2 separate regions of the Homo sapiens genome follow, and region 2 is linked to region 1. Evidence: promoter capture Hi-C in human tissues and cell types (Jung and others, 2019). All regions are on one chromosome and are shown on one strand. The core of a region is centred on a gene start or on the middle of the fragment in contact, and the rest is flanking DNA. Distances in the headings are between cores, read along the strand shown.

Evidence for each region. The method cuts DNA at HindIII sites, captures the fragments that hold promoters and counts their contacts. A contact is called where the count stands out against the background at its distance.
Region 2: a contact is called between a fragment that was not itself captured here and the fragment with the promoter of TLR3 in region 1, in 2 of the 25 tissues and cell types used here (H1 embryonic stem cells and heart left ventricle).

The regions. Positions count from the first base shown.
Region 1 is chr4:186,067,810-186,070,509 of GRCh38, forward strand. It overlaps TLR3 (toll like receptor 3), which reads left to right and starts at 1,347. Exons shown (of 5, transcript NM_003265.3): 1 at 1,347-1,439. The HindIII fragment of the contact is 6,210 bases long and covers 1-2,700 here.
Region 2 is chr4:185,517,225-185,519,924 of GRCh38, forward strand. All of the region lies in intron 3 of PDLIM3 (PDZ and LIM domain 3), which reads right to left. Among named protein-coding and RNA genes, the nearest start is that of PDLIM3, 17 kb to the right of the region's middle. The HindIII fragment of the contact is 4,125 bases long and covers 1-2,700 here.

The DNA.
Region 1 (2,700 bases), core at 97-2,596:
GTTGCATGCTTGCTAATATCCCACTGGTCAAAGCTAGTCAAATGGCCAAGCCTAGAGTCAGCGTGGGAGAAGGCCACACAAGGGTTTGAATTCTGAGGACGAGTCTCTTTCATTGAAGGCCAAAGAAACAGTCTACCTCAGAGGGTTGCTGGGGAGCTATAATGCAAAGAATAAACCTCACCCTGCCTTCAAGGCGCTCACAGAGAAGAAATCTTTTGAATATTAGTGAAGTTTTCCTGGACATCCCAATGGATAGATGTGAGGGACAGTCACGTACTCAGGACATCTGTTTGCTTATGGTGTTATGTTACAGATGTCACAAATGAAAATCAGAGACATGTAGCCCTGAGCCCAGTAACTATAAAGCGGTCTAGCTGAAGCTGGAGCCCACAAGAGGGCACTTTGCACCATGATGCACGCTTGTTTCTTGCCATCAGCTCTGCAATGAGTTCAAGCTAATGCCATGTCCCAGCCGTCCAGTTGTTTTATGACTTGTGTGATTGAAGCATATGGTGGCTTGTGGCATGTTCTTAGGCAAACCACTCACCTCCCTAGGTTTCGTTTTCCTAATTTCTCAAACAAGGGAGTTAGATTAGGTGGTCTATAGTTCCTTCCAATTGTGATATTTCACTATATAACAATATAGTTATAATAGATCATAGCACATCTGTAATGAAAAAAAGTGAGTTCATTTCTTAACAAGTACATTTACTTAACTAGTTGGAGTCATTAAAGCAAATTAAGAACGAAATTCTTAGTTAATCTGAACTTTTCTGGGCATACTGATCTGTTCCCTAACGCGTCTGACCGTGGAAAAGTGGATCAGCAGGAGTGGGACTGGCTCTCAGCTTTGCCATGTTTGGCTCTTTCTCTGCTGTGAAACTCAGTTTCTTCCTGGATCAAGAGGTTAATTTCTGCCGGTGTTATTTTACAGTGTTGCAAAGAGATAAAAGCCAGACGAAAGAAGGGAAAGTACTTCAGCTTTGATTAGGGATTTTTTTTTCTGTCCCTGTGACCATACACTACTCAATTCTGACAGCTTCGCATGAGTCTAGCAGAAAATTGAGGGATTCACTGTTATTCCTTAACTTGCAGAGGTCCAGACCCGCCCACATCAAATGGTGAGGTCCCCACTTTCAACTTTAGCTGTTGCTAAATCTGTGACCCTTTCAATGAAATCCAAGGATCTCAGCTTAAAAAAAGTTAAAATAAAATAAAAACTAGGTGTTTTTCAGAGGCGGTTTGAAACGCCTCTCTGAGGTTGTCAGAGATTGTTTTTGTTTTCTCCCTTTGCCCTTCTTGGAATGCACCAAACATAAAAGCATTTTTTTTCAAGCTTTACTTTCACTTTCGAGAGTGCCGTCTATTTGCCACACACTTCCCTGATGAAATGTCTGGATTTGGACTAAAGAAAAAAGGAAAGGCTAGCAGTCATCCAAGTAAGTGAAGGTGTTCATTTCACGTTCTTACTGGGCAGGGTCTCTCTTGCTGAGTAGAGTTTGCTAGCAGAATGCATGTGGTTTTAGCCTTCTTTGGTCTTTCTTTGATCTGGTGCTTGAAATCTAGTCAGAATTATTCAGGAAGGAAAGTGGAAGAAAAGGGATATGATATGGGCATGGGAGAAGGGTATAACTCAGAACACAAGTAATAGCACCAATATCTAGTTAATGTGATAATGTATTTATGCAGTATTTAATTTTTTTCTCTGTAGCATTCTGTACCTGGAAAAAACACATTAGGGAAGCTATGGAAATCATTTTGCAACAGTCTTTTTAGCAAATCACATCTTTGCCTTAAAGAAACAAAACTCCAAGAGGTTAAAAGAGCGTATCCCCTTTTGTTAGTTTTATTGGCTGGAGGGGAGACAGGAGCTGGCATTGTATGACAATGTCTTAGATAGGAGAGAACATTCAGGTATGCCTAGGAGTAAGTAAATGGCTTTCTTTCACCTAATGAAGGATAATGGAAGAAGTGGAGAAGTGGAAAGTTGTTAAGGTGTATGGGAAGATCAGAAACTGGTATCGGCAATTGTGGGGTACTCGGGTAAAAATGGAGTTGGCTTCAGCAAGTTGATTCCCAGGTTTACAGATGATTACGTGCTGGTATGTGTCTTCATATGGGCGTGCCTGTGTATGAACCTACTACAAAGGTTGCAAAGTTTACAAATCAAACTATGGATAGTGGTTAACTCCAGGTAGTCTGCCTCCAGACCCCATGTCCTAACCATCAGGCAATATTGTCTCTCACTTGGACAAAGAATGTGAATTCCATGTGCCCTCACAAAATATTTCCAAAATTCTAAGGCTGAGTGAGTCTCTTTTTAATTTTTTTTCATTTTCTTTATTTCTGCTAGATCTCATTCAACAGCAACGTTTTCTTCACTCTCATTTCATCCTTTAACTGCATTTTTGCTTGTTTTACTGAAGCATGTCCTAGAATAACCTTTTCATACAGATCGTATGGCTATAAACTTACTGAATTTTTGCATATCTCAAAATACTTATACCTTTTTATTTAGTTATTCAGATGGATGTGAAATTTCCCTATCTTATTTTATTTTATTTTATTTCATTTTATTTCATTTATCGATTTAGAGACAAGGTCTCGCTGTGTTGCCCAGGCTGAAGTACAGTGGCATGATCGTGGCTCACTGCAGCCTTGACCTCCCTGGCTCAAGCAATTCTCACACCTCAGTGTCAC
Region 2 (2,700 bases), core at 39-2,538, 550 kb before region 1:
ATATGAGAGAAGACAGCACACTAATTGCCTAACTGCCTAGTTAAGTTTTGGTGGATTACAAGTCTCTCAGGCTAATTAAAGAATCAGGCAGTACTGAATCACTTAAGTTTTGTGGAGCTTAGCTTTTTTTTTTTTTTTTTTTTTTTTTTTTTAAAGAAAGTAAGGCCTGCCTTAAAGTCTTTGTAAATAGAATTGAATTAATAAAAACTAACATAATATAATGGCTTTATGGAAAATACCTCTGCCCTTATTTCTTCTTAGCCTTAAGATGATAATTAAATATAGGTAGTGTTGTCCTGTAAATAAGGCAACTTCTCTGAAAATATTTGTGCATTAATAATCTCTAGTAGAATTTCTAAATAGCAGCATGTAAGTTAATCAGCTCCAAGCAATTTCTTTGCAATTTTCGGTTTTGGTTACACATATATTGCAAAGATCACAAATGTGTAATTTGTTAAAAAAAAAAACCAACAACCTCTATTTTACATTCAGATCATAAAAGGAAGTGTTTCTAATACAGGCTGCAAACATTTTTATTTAGGCTTTGCAAAGCATTAGTTTATGGGCTTTTAGAGTCATTCCAAAAAGCACAATGAAGTGTATACACCAAAGGTTTACCAAGAAATTTAAGTGGGGCACTGAGGGGCAACATTCTATCCAAGGCTTACATCATTGTTGATGGTCAAATGTAATCAAAAGACAAAACCAATTAGAAGTCCGCTGTTCCACTTTAATTCATTTTTATTTTTCCTGGAAAAATCACAAGTAACTGAAAATGCCAGTTAAAAAAGTGTATACAACAGTTAATATAGTCCAGCTCTTGTGTTTATTCTATCTAGAAAAAACCACCCAAATAATTCTTATTTCTTAGGAATTCAATATGTAATTATTCCCTTAATGGATACATTTAAAATTTTTATTTTAAATGTTAGAGGCTTATATTAAGGAACAACATTTTGAATTAATGGAATGCTAGAGCTGCCCCAGTGAAAGCTAAGTAACTTGACAGAACTCTGCTGATGTTAAGAGGATCCAACCATGGACAGCAGTCTCCCATGTCCTTGGAATGACCTCAGACATGACAGCAGTCAAAGGCTTCACCTTTCAACTTCTTACTTGGAGACTGCTCACAGATAAAGATTCAGATAATCTTTATAATTCTGAACCATCTCCAACAGAAACAGTATGTTTGATTCATAGATATACACACATATATGTATACACATATATATTTATATATAATATGTATACATATGTGTATATAAAATCAAATCATATATATATGAAAAAATGGTGGGCATATAAGAGAAACAAACTCTATGAAGTGATCTTATATTTGATCAAGGCATGATGAAGAAATTATATTTCATCACGTTTGAAGTTTAGAATCACTTCCTCCTCATACTCACCCCTCAAATAAACAGTAAAGTCACCCTCATCATCCTTTTTTCTCCAGTGAGCAGTTTCAAGTGTTTCCCATCTCTCACTGGGAAGAGCTTGAGGAAATGGTGACTATGAAAGCTTGTTTTATATGGGCTGCCTTCCAGTTACCAAAACACTTTTTATTTGTGAAAATAAAAATGACTTTATCCCACACTCTTCTTGACTGTGTATGTAAACTCTATTATCTTCTCTGGCAAGGATGCAATCCTTTTTATGGAAATGGAGACAGCTTTCTTCTTATTTAGATAAGAACCATTTTTGTTTCTGAAAGCATCTTTCTTGTATTGTGACAGGCACAGTATACCTTTGAGTTGTTCCACTAACATTAAGCAAATATGAGGGTTATGGTTTGAGAATGTAAGCTTTGAAAAAGGACAAAGAGCTTCATTAACATACTCTTAGTCAAGAGCAACACTTCGTACTAAAAAATGGACCATTTTGTCTATTTTTGTACAGAAAAATAGAGAAAAATAGATTGTGTTCAGGATTGCATGGAAGGCATTTATTCAGGTGCTGGGAGTTGATCTAAACAACAACTAACGTGCCCTTTAAGCCTAAGATTCAAGTCTAAACTCAGAGAAACAAAACTTAGCTATTTGATGATAGCATGGAAAAATTATTATTATTATTATTTGTGAGACGGAGTCTTACTCTGTTGCCCAGGCTGGAGTGCAGTGGTGCGATCTTGGCTCACTGCAACCTCCACCTCTTGGGTTCAAGTGATTCTCCTGCCTCAGCCTCCCCAGTAGCTGGGACCACAGGCGTGTGCCACCACATCTGGCTAATTTTTTGTATTTCTAGTAGAGACAGGGTTTCACCATGTTGACCAGGCTGGTCTCAAACTCCTGACCTCAGGTGATCCACCTGCCTCGGCCTCCCAAAGTGCTGGGACTACAGGCGTGAGCCACCATGCCCGGCCACATTTTAAAAATCTAGATATTAAAATTTTATATCAACTATTCCTATAACCATATAAGAAAATGTCTCCTTAGCTTAAACCTATTCACAGGGGAAAAAAACCCCCAGAAATAAACATACTAATATTTAATATCTGTGGCTGGGCTTGGATGGTATAGTTTTTTCCCCAATAAGTAAGTGAGAAAGTGTATTTTATTCCAATGTCAAAGGTCACATAACTTACAATAAAAGTTTGACTTGGGTTGAGAAACAAAAACTCAAATTTCATATTGTTCCATGGCCTTTTGCTATTCATCTGCAATGACATCCTGAAGCATGATAATATTAATGGCATTTGTT